2 separate regions of the Homo sapiens genome follow, and region 1 is linked to region 2. The links are contacts of gene promoters, found by promoter capture Hi-C in blood cells and fetal thymus (Javierre and others, 2016). All regions are on one chromosome and are shown on one strand. The core of a region is centred on a gene start or on the middle of the fragment in contact, and the rest is flanking DNA. Distances in the headings are between cores, read along the strand shown.

Evidence for each region. Contacts are between HindIII fragments. The CHiCAGO score rates a contact against its expected background, and 5 or more counts as called.
Region 1: the fragment with the promoter of DOLK here is called in contact with a fragment that was not itself captured in region 2 in 1 of 17 cell types (naive B cells); the score reaches 6.5 in naive B cells.

Annotation. Positions count from the first base shown.
Region 1 is chr9:128,945,449-128,951,476 of GRCh38, reverse strand. DOLK (dolichol kinase) reads left to right here and starts at 3,874. Exons shown (of 1, transcript NM_014908.4): 1 at 3,874-5,947. The coding sequence starts at 4,174. The coding sequence ends at 5,790. NUP188 (nucleoporin 188) reads right to left here and starts at 3,778. Exons shown (of 44, transcript NM_015354.3): 1 at 3,726-3,778; 2 at 2,234-2,288. The coding sequence starts at 3,757. RefSeq lists enhancers at 3,659-3,708, 3,428-3,989, 4,059-4,128, 3,990-4,551, 4,552-5,114. The HindIII fragment of the contact is 6,982 bases long and covers 640-6,028 here.
Region 2 is chr9:128,635,051-128,640,016 of GRCh38, reverse strand. It overlaps DYNC2I2 (dynein 2 intermediate chain 2), which reads left to right. Exons shown (of 9, transcript NM_052844.4): 3 at 2,990-3,099; 4 at 3,579-3,736; 5 at 4,250-4,359; 6 at 4,758-4,925. Among named protein-coding and RNA genes, the nearest start is that of DYNC2I2, 19 kb to the left of the region's middle. RefSeq lists enhancers at 3,322-4,072, 4,125-4,966. The HindIII fragment of the contact is 5,285 bases long and covers 1,071-4,966 here.

The DNA of each region.
Region 1 (6,028 bases), core at 2,625-5,124, 310 kb before region 2:
GACAGGGTCCTGTTCTGTCACCCAGGCTGGAGTGCAGTGATGCAATCATGGCTCACTGCAGGCTTGATATCCTGAGCTTAAGCGATCTTTCCACCACAGCCTCCTGAGTAGCTGGAACTACTAATACAAGCATATGCCACCAAGCCTGACTTTTTTTTTTTTTTTTTTTTGAGATGGAGTCTCGCTTTGTCACCCAGGCTGGAGTACAGTTGCGCGATCTCGACTCACTGCAACCTCCACTTCCGGGTTCAAGCGAATCTCCTGCCTCAGCCTCCCGAGTAGCTGGGATTACAGGCATGCACCACCACACCGGGCTAATTTTGTATTTTTAGTAGAGACGGGGTTTCTCCATGTTGAGGCTGGTCACGAACTCCTGACCTCAGGTGATCCGCCCGCCTCGGCCTCCCAAAGTGCTGGGATTACAGGCGTGAGCCACCATGCCTGGCCAAGAATCTTTCTTAGGTTGAGGTAGAAGAATGGTATTTGCACCCCTACTCTCAGCAGCCAAGCAATGAACACAGGTATCTTTTCATAAAAGGAATCAATGAAATACAAAGGTAGATTTAAAAGACTTCAGCAGCTAGGCTAGGTAGTCTCATTTCAGCAAAGAAGTAGGGAATGCGTAATGTTTATAAAGCTTTTTGCTTTTTTGAGCTGGGGTCTCGATGTGTCTCCCAGGCTAGAGTTCACTGCAGCCTCAACCTCCCAGGATCAAGCAATCCTCCCACCTTGGACTCCTAAGTAGCTGGGACTACAGACATGCACCACCATGCCTGGCTAATTTTTTAAAAAATTTTTTGTAGAGACGGGGTCTTGCTATCTTGCCAGGGTTGGCCTTGAGCTTGTGCACTCAATTGATCCTTCTGCCTTGGCCTTCCAAAGTGCTGGGGTTACAGGCATGAGCCACTGCATCTGACCACGTTTATAAAGTTTTAGGAACAAAAAAAAAGTGTTTATACCAGGCACAGTGGCTCATGCCTGCAATCCAAGCACTTTGGGAGACTGAGGTGGGCAGATCACCTGAGGCCAGGAATTCAAGACCAGCCTGGCCAACATGGTGAAACCCCATCTCTACTAAAAATACAAAAATTAGCCGGGCGTGGTGGCATGCATCTGTAATCCCCAGCTCCTTGAGAGGCTAAGGCAGGAATCACTTGAACCCAGGAGACAGAGGTTGCAGTGAGCCAAGATCGTGCCACTGCACTCCAACCTGGGCGAGAGCCAGACTCTGTCTCAACAACAACAAAAAAACGTAGCCGGGTGTGGTGGCTCATGCCTGTAATCCCAGCACTTTGGGAGGCTGAGGCAGGCAGATCACCTGAGGTCGGGAGTTCAAGACCGACCTGGCCAACATGGCAAAACCCTGTCTCTACTAAAAATATAAAAATCAGCAGGGCGTGGTGGTGGGCACCTCTAATCCCAGCTACTGGGGAGGCTGAGGCAGGAGAATCACTTGAACCCAGGTGGCAGAGGTTGAAGTGAGCCAAGATCGAGCTACTTACACTCCAGCCTGGGAGCAAGACACCCCCCTCAAAAAAAAAAAAAAAAAAAAAAAAAGTGGCCGTCACGCCTGTTATCCCAGGACTTTGAGATGCCAAGGCAAGTAGATCACCTGAGGTCAGGAGTTCAACACCAGCCTGGCCAACATGGTGAAACCCTGTCTCCACTAAAAATACAAAAATTAGCCAGGTGTGGTGGCATGCACCTGTAATCTCAGCTACTCGGGAGGCTGTGGCAGGAAAATCGCTTGAACTCGGGAGGCGGAGGTTGCAGTGAGCTGGGATCATGCTGTTACACTCCAGCCTGGGTAACAAGAGTGAAACTCCATCTCAAAATAAATAAATAGGCCAGGTGTGGTGGCTCACGCCTATAATCACAGCAATTTGGGAGGCCAAGGAGGGCAGATCACCTAAGGTCGGGAGTTGGAGACCAGCCTGACCAAAATGGAAAAACCCCATCTCTACTAAAAATACAAAATTAGTCGGGCGTGGTGGTGCATGCCTGTAATCCCAGCTACTCGAGAAGCTGAGGCAGGAGAATCGCTTGAACCTGGGAGGCGGAGGTTGCGGTGAGCCGAGATCACGCCATTGCACTCCAGCCTGGGAAACAAGAGCGAAACTCTGTCTCTAAATAAATAAATGTGTTTACTTCCTACATTTAAAAAAAGGTTTTTTTTGGTAACAAAAGCTACACAAAGAACCCAGAGAACCCACTCAAGAACACCACCACTTACCAGCTCTCTCAGAGCTGACCTTCCAAGCAGAATAGTCCACAGTTCTCTACTGCTCCTGCAAAATGAGAGAACAGAGGTAATTTTGCTCTTTCTGATCATACAAACTTGTACACTGCCTCATAGCCATTTTGTCTGCTCTCTAAAAGCAAAAAATCTCAATATACAAAACGATTTGTTAAATTTTTGGAAAGTAATCTTGTTATATAATAATATTGTTAGGGCCGGGCACGGTGGCTCATGCCTGTAATCCCAGCACTTTGGGAGGTCGAGGCGGGCGGATCATGAGGTCAGAAGATCGAGACCATCCTGGCTAACACAGTGAAACCCTGTCTCTACTGAAAATACAAAAAATTAGCCAGGCGTTGTGGCGGGTGCCTGTATCCCCAGCTACTTGGGAGGCTGAGGCAGGAGAATGGCATGAACCCGGGAGACAGAGCTTGCAGTGAGCCGAGATCGTGCCATTGCACTCCAGCCTGGGCGACAGAGCGAGACTCCGTCTCAAAAAAAAAAAAAAAAAAAAAAAAAAAAAAAAGTGGGGAAAACACTGCTGGCACAGGGAAGGATAAGAGACGGGGATGTTTAACTTTGAGGGAGGGTGGTGGGAAGAACGAAGACCTTCGAGCTGCAATGTGGAAGACAGAAGGAGGCGTGGTGGTCTGGTTATAGCACTGGAGGTACGCAGACTTCAGCTTGAAGGCTCTCTTTATCACTTGGCTAGCTCTGAGCCGGACTTCTGAGTCATCTGTGAAATAGAAGGCGCCTCTCGGAGTTGCGAGAATTGAATGAGATAACTCCTGGGAAGCGCTCCACCAGGGTCTGACGCTAGAAAGCACTTTGTCAGAATTGTAGTTTTCGTATATAATATTTCATCTTCTTGTCCCTAAAGCCTAGTTCAATCCCTGAAATCTCTTGGAGGATTTGGACATGCTGGCTGACTTGATTCAGTGCAAGAAAAGAACGATACGAGGCGCGGAGAGGACAGAAGCCGCAAGCGTGGCTCCGCTCAACGCGAAACAAAATCCTAACAAGAACAGATCGCGGGAGAGGTCGGGGAGCCAGCAGGGCGCACTCGACGCCGGGGCAGGACACTGGGAGCCTGCAGCAGGGACGTGGGTGGGGGGTACCCCAGGAGACCGCAAAGCTCCCCGTGGCTCGAGGGAGCGTCACGGCCGGAGAAGGAAGCGCGGGTGGGGCGCCAAGAGACGCGTCGGAGGTGAGAGAGGAGGAAGGCAAAGGGCCCTGGGTGAGGAGATGGGAGGCCGAGCGCGGAGGGAAGGGGTGAAGAGCCGGCCCCCCTCCTGAAGAAGACTCTTCAGATCCCCGCGCGCGGGGACCGTTTGGACGTAACCGCCTCCCGTCTCGGTGCCCGTCCATCCAGCCGGGGTTGGCCCTGCCACTGTCGCCACATCCCGCCTCCAATTCCCGCCCCGCTTCCGCTCGGCTTTGACACCGCGCTTCACAGCCACCCCGGTCCATTCGACCCGCTCCGCACCTCACACACGGCCCGCCGGCGGCCGCCGCCATCTTCGCGCGCCCGCTCGCCCTAACCCCGCCCCCAGACGCCATGCCCACGTGACCGCTCGCCCCCGGACCCGGAGCGTGGGCGGGGATTTCGTCACGTGACGTTGCCGCGGGGCGGTGCCAAGATGGCGAGGCCCAAAGAGGTGAGGAGCCGGCAGCGGGGGCGGCTGTAACTGTGAGGAAGGCTGCAGAGTGGCGACGTCTACGCCGTAGGTTGGAGGCTGTGGGGGGTGGCCGGGCGCCAGCTCCCAGGCCGCAGAAGTGACCTGCGGTGGAGTTCCCTCCTCGCTGCTGGAGAACGGAGGGAGAAGGTTGCTGGCCGGGTGAAAGTGCCTCCCTCTGCTTGACGGGGCTGAGGGGCCCGAAGTCTAGGGCGTCCGTAGTCGCCCCGGCCTCCGTGAAGCCCCAGGTCTAGAGATATGACCCGAGAGTGCCCATCTCCGGCCCCGGGGCCTGGGGCTCCGCTGAGTGGATCGGTGCTGGCAGAGGCGGCAGTAGTGTTTGCAGTGGTGCTGAGCATCCACGCAACCGTATGGGACCGATACTCGTGGTGCGCCGTGGCCCTCGCAGTGCAGGCCTTCTACGTCCAATACAAGTGGGACCGGCTGCTACAGCAGGGAAGCGCCGTCTTCCAGTTCCGAATGTCCGCAAACAGTGGCCTATTGCCCGCCTCCATGGTCATGCCTTTGCTTGGACTAGTCATGAAGGAGCGGTGCCAGACTGCTGGGAACCCGTTCTTTGAGCGTTTTGGCATTGTGGTGGCAGCCACTGGCATGGCAGTGGCCCTCTTCTCATCAGTGTTGGCGCTCGGCATCACTCGCCCAGTGCCAACCAACACTTGTGTCATCTTGGGCTTGGCTGGAGGTGTTATCATTTATATCATGAAGCACTCGTTGAGCGTGGGGGAGGTGATCGAAGTCCTGGAAGTCCTTCTGATCTTCGTTTATCTCAACATGATCCTGCTGTACCTGCTGCCCCGCTGCTTCACCCCTGGTGAGGCACTGCTGGTATTGGGTGGCATTAGCTTTGTCCTCAACCAGCTCATCAAGCGCTCTCTGACACTGGTGGAAAGTCAGGGGGACCCAGTGGACTTCTTCCTGCTGGTGGTGGTAGTAGGGATGGTACTCATGGGCATTTTCTTCAGCACTCTGTTTGTCTTCATGGACTCAGGCACCTGGGCCTCCTCCATCTTCTTCCACCTCATGACCTGTGTGCTGAGCCTTGGTGTGGTCCTACCCTGGCTGCACCGGCTCATCCGCAGGAATCCCCTGCTCTGGCTTCTTCAGTTTCTCTTCCAGACAGACACCCGCATCTACCTCCTAGCCTATTGGTCTCTGCTGGCCACCTTGGCCTGCCTGGTGGTGCTGTACCAGAATGCCAAGCGGTCATCTTCCGAGTCCAAGAAGCACCAGGCCCCCACCATCGCCCGAAAGTATTTCCACCTCATTGTGGTAGCCACCTACATCCCAGGTATCATCTTTGACCGGCCACTGCTCTATGTAGCCGCCACTGTATGCCTGGCGGTCTTCATCTTCCTGGAGTATGTGCGCTACTTCCGCATCAAGCCTTTGGGTCACACTCTACGGAGCTTCCTGTCCCTTTTTCTGGATGAACGAGACAGTGGACCACTCATTCTGACACACATCTACCTGCTCCTGGGCATGTCTCTTCCCATCTGGCTGATCCCCAGACCCTGCACACAGAAGGGTAGCCTGGGAGGAGCCAGGGCCCTCGTCCCCTATGCCGGTGTCCTGGCTGTGGGTGTGGGTGATACTGTGGCCTCCATCTTCGGTAGCACCATGGGGGAGATCCGCTGGCCTGGAACCAAAAAGACTTTTGAGGGGACCATGACATCTATATTTGCGCAGATCATTTCTGTAGCTCTGATCTTAATCTTTGACAGTGGAGTGGACCTAAACTACAGTTATGCTTGGATTTTGGGGTCCATCAGCACTGTGTCCCTCCTGGAAGCATACACTACACAGATAGACAATCTCCTTCTGCCTCTCTACCTCCTGATATTGCTGATGGCCTAGCTGTTACAGTGCAGCAGCAGTGACGGAGGAAACAGACATGGGGAGGGTGAACAGTCCCCACAGCAGACAGCTACTTGGGCATGAAGAGCCAAGGTGTGAAAAGCAGATTTGATTTTTCAGTTGATTCAGATTTAAAATAAAAAGCAAAGCTCTCCTAGTTCTAGTTTTGCTGATATATTTTTTTTTTTATTTTTTTTTGAGACAGTTTTGCTCTTGTTGCCCAGGTTGGAGTGCAATG
Region 2 (4,966 bases), core at 2,464-4,963:
AAAAGAATGTCTCCTGTGGTATCTTCTTCACTCCTCAAAACAACTGTATGAGGCTGGGCACAGTGGCTCACGCCTGTAATCCCAGCACTTTGGGAGGCCAAGGTGGGTGGATCACCTGAGGTTGGCAGTTCGAGACCAGCCTGGCCAACATAGTGAAACCTCCTCTCTACTAAAAATACAAAAATTAGCCAGGCGTGGTGGTGCACGCCTGTTGTTCCAGCTACTCGGGAGGCTGAGGCAGGAGAATCACTTTAACCCGGGAGACGGAGCTTGCAGTGAGCTGAGACTGTGCCACTGCACTCCTGCCTGGGTGACAGAGCAAGACTCCATCTCAAAAAAAGACAAAAAAACAACAAAAAAAAACTGTATGAGGTAGTGCTATTATAATCTTCAGTTTATAGATGAGGCTGAGAGAGGCTAAGTGACATATCCAGGTCCACACACACAGCTCCAGAACTTGAACCCCAGTCTCTCTGGTTTCACTGCCATGCTCTGGGTCATCTGCCCTCCAAGTACAGTCCAGAGTCATGACCCTGTAAATGCTGATGGGCAGTTGGGCAGACAGTATTGGGTTTGAGATGAGGGAGCTTTTGTCTTTTTCTTTTTTTTTTATTTTTTTGAGACAGAGTCTCGCTCTGTCACCCAGGATGGAGTGCAGTGGCATGATCTTGGCTCACTGCAACCTCTGCCTCCCGGGTCCAAGCAATTCTCCTGTCTCAGCCTCCTGAGCAGCTGGGATTACAGGCACCCGCCACCACGCCCGGCTAATTTTGTATTTTTGGTAGAGATGGATTTCACCATGTTGGTCAGGTTGGTCTCGAATTCCTGACCTCAGGTGATCTGCCTGCCTTGGCCTCCCAAAGTGCTGTGATTACAGGCGTGAGCCACCTCGCCTGGCCAAAAAAATTTTTTTAGAGTTAGGGTCTTCCTATGTTGCCCAGGCTGTAGTTCAGATGGGCTCAAGAGATGCTCCTGCCTCAGCCTCCTGAGATGATTTTTTACAAAGTATAAACATTCCTTGAACCAAAATCCAGATCAAGAAAGTGAACATTACAAGGCCTGTAAAAGCTTCCTTCCACCTCCTAGCCCATTGTATAGCTTTGTTTGAAAATAATAGGTTCATGCGTGTTGTGGCTTGGGTTGGTGCTGCGTTCCTTTTTACAGCTGCATGGTGTTGCATGGACAGACCACATTCATTTAGCCACTCATCAGCTAATGGACATTTGGGCTATTCCCCTTTTTGGCTATAGTGAGTCATGCTCTTGTGGACATTGGTGTACAGGTGTCCATGTGGACATGAGTTTTCATTTCTCTAGGGTCTAAACCTATGAGTGGAGTTGCTGGTCCTGGTCTCCTGCAGCTTGTTCTCCACAGCAGAGGCACCTCTTGCACATGCTGCAGCAGTGCGCGGGGTGTGGCTGTGGAGCTCTTTGTGGAGTGTGGAGTCTTTCCAGTGGATAGTTTCTTTTTTATTTTTTTACAAAATGCATTTTTTTTTTTTGAGATGGAGTCTCGCTCTGTCGCCAGGCTGGAGTGCAATGGCGTGATCTGGGCTCACTGCAACCTCTGCCTCCTGGGTTCAAGCTATTCTGCTGCCTCAGCCTCCTGAGTAGCTGGGACCACAGGCACGTGCTACCACACCCAGCTCATTTTTTGTATTTTTAGTAGAGATGGGTTTCACCATGTTGGCCAGGATGGTCTTGAACTCCAGACCTTGTGATCCGCCCGCCTCCGCCTCCCAAAGTGCTGGGATTACAGGCATGAGCCACCAGGCCTGGCCTTTTTTTTTTTTTTTTGAGACAGGGTCTTGCTCTGTTGCTTAGGCTGGAGAGCAGCAGTGCAACCTCTGTGTCCTGGGTTCAAGTGATCCTCCCACCTCAACTTCCTGAGTAGCTGGGATTACAGGCTCTGACCCCCATGCCCAGCTAATTTTTGTATTTTTGGTAGAGACGGGGTTTCACCATCTTGCCTACACTGGTCTTGAACTCCTGAGCTTAAGCTATCCTCCTGCCTCAGCCTCCCAAAGTGCTGAGATTACAGGCGTGAGCCATCGTGCCCGGCCCTCAGTTGATAGTTTCTTTATGTAGAATCATGAGGTCAACAGATCTGAAACGTCAGAGGATCTGAGAGGCTGTTTGGATTCCTGGCACACACCACTTCCTGGGCAGCTGGTGCCTACCCCTGGCTAGGCTGGTCGTCAGCCTCCTCACATGCAGCTGTGGCCGGCTGCAGGGCTGAAAGCAAGATGCCAGAGCTTGACAAAAAATCGTGGGCAGCCAGGCACAGCAGCTCATGCCTGTCATCTCAGCACTTTGGGAGACCGAGGCAGGCGGATCACCTGAGGTCAGGAGTTCGAGACTAGCCTGGGCAACATGGTGAAACCCCGTCTCTGATAAAAATATAAAAATTATCCAGGTTTGGTGGCACGCGCCTGTAATCCCAGCTACTTGGGAGGCTGAGGCATGAGAATCACTTGAACCCAGGAGGTGGCAGTTGCAGTGAGTGGAGACTGCACCATTGCACTCCAGCCTGGGCCACAGAGTGAGACTCTGTCTCAAAAAGAAAACCAACCAACTAACCACCACAAACAACAAAAAATCATGTGCGTGTAGCACAGCGTGACGTCGGGTGGTTCGCTTGACCCCTTGTACTTGGCCGCGTTGGGCACTTTTATGCTGCTGGGCAACCATCCCCACCTTCCTGCTGCAGCCCCTGAGGCTTGGAAACTGTGGAGTGTGCCTGTGAGGGCAGCCACCCCTCTGGGCGGGAGCCTGGTCGGCCTTGCTTCTCAGGCCATGCCTTCTGGGCTTCTGGAAGCATTCTGCTGGGGCAGATGTGGGGATGAACGTGCCACATTTTCCTCTAGGCCTGGCTGATGGACTTGAGGGCCTCTAGGGCTAAGGGTGGCCTGGCCTAGGTGGGGTTTGGTTAGGCAGTCATGAGGCCCCTGCTGGTGGCTTTGGACTCAGGGTTGGGGACGTCTCCGCAGGTGTCTTGTCTGTATACCCTGGGCTACCCGCCAGCCCAAGCGCAGGGTCTGCATGTGACCAGCATCTCCTGGAACTCCACTGGCTCTGTGGTGGCCTGTGCCTACGGCCGGTGAGTGGCAGCGGGGCAGGTGAGGGGCAGCTCGCCACCCCAGGACCCTCCTTGGGCCTTGTCTCTGTAGCTGCACAGGGAAGGGCTGGTTCTAAGAGCTTGGCCATCCTGGGAGTCTCTTCTCAAGCCTTCCTGGGCAGGGTTGACAACAAGTGGCAGAAGAGCAGGCAGTGGGGCTGAGTGCCAGGATCACCCTCCCCCCTGCCTGGAGGCCCTGGGCCTGCCTGCCTCGCCCGCCCCACCAGCTGCTTCCCCATCCTGCATGGCATGGACTGTCCTTGGTGCCTGGGGACCATTTTCCAGAGAATGCCACACCCTTGGGGTGCTAGAGTGGAGTGTGGGCCACTTCAATACCCAGAGTAGTGTCTGGTGGTGACAAGGACACAGCGAGTGTGTCCGGGGCTAGTGGGGAGAGAGGTGGGGTGGGTGATAGGAGCCCCACCCAGGGGCACAGCCGGCTCAAGCCTGTCCCTGCACAGGCTGGACCATGGGGACTGGAGCACGCTTAAGTCCTTCGTGTGTGCCTGGAACCTGGACCGGCGAGACCTGCGTCCCCAGCAGCCGTCGGCCGTGGTGGAGGTCCCCAGCGCTGTCCTGTGTCTGGCCTTCCACCCCACGCAGCCCTCCCACGTCGCAGGTGAGCTGCCTGCTGTGTCCGCCTCCTCTCCTCTCAGGACTCAGCTTCCCGCCCTGCAGAGGGCACAAGGGAGCTTTCCATGGGCCCTTTGGCCCGGAGACAGGAAGGCGGGCCCTGACCCTCTCAGTCTGGAGCCCAGGTGAAGGTCTGCAGTGAGCCCTGAGGGGTGGAACTCGGGGGAGGAGTCTGGAAGGGGGCCAGGGTCGGGGCCAGGACAGGGGGCTGTGGAGAGGCCAGAAGAGGCAGGTGCCCTTGGGAAGCCGTCAGTGGTAGGGGGCAGGCAACGCTGGAGGGAGCTGCCAGGTGCAGGGCAGGGGTGTCCGGCAAAGCTCCCTGGGGTACAACAGGGGAGCTGGGGGCTAGGACTCTCCCTCTGTGGGGATGACTTCCAGCCAAGTGGCTCTGCCGCCTGGCCCTGGCCCTGGCCCTGTAGGTGGGCTGGGGCGGGTGTTTGGCCAGGAAGTCAGGCTGGGGGTGGGGCTGAGCCTCTGCCCAGGTCCACTGTCCCTGCAGGAGGGCTGTACAGTGGTGAGGTGTTGGTGTGGGACCTGAGCCGTCTTGAGGACCCGCTGCTGTGGCGCACAGGCCTGACGGATGACACCCACACAGACCCTGTGTCCCAGGTCAGGGCAGGGGCTGCCGGGCGGGGTGGGCCCTGAGGCAGAGCTGGGGAGAGGGCGCCCACTCTCCTAGGAAGGTCACCCGGGCGTTGGCAGTTGGACAGCTGCCTCCTGCATTCTCGGAGCTCCCGCAGCATGAGTCACCCCCCTCAGGAGCCACTCCCAGGGCCCTGTGGCCATTCCCAGCCTCCTCTGCAGGCACCGAGTGAGCAGCGCTGGGATTCTGGGACTGGAGAGGGCCCTGGGAACCCTCCAGGCCTGCCCCCTGGTGGGTGAGCCTGGTTCTGGGGCCTCCCGGAGAATTTTTTTTTTTCCTGGAAGAGAGGGAGGGTAGGGGTGGAGCGTGACACCTGGGCAGGTGTCCCTTGTCTCCATCCTGGCCCTGCATGCTGTTAACTCAGGTGGTGTGGCTGCCCGAGCCTGGGCACAGCCACCGCTTCCAGGTGCTGAGTGTGGCCACCGACGGGAAGGTGCTACTCTGGCAGGGCATCGGGGTAGGCCAGCTGCAGCTCACAGAGGGCTTCGCCCTGGTCATGCAGCAGCTGCCACGGAGCACCAAGCTCAAGAAGGTACGTGGGCACCCGGAAACTGCCCTGGCCTGCGCCGGTGA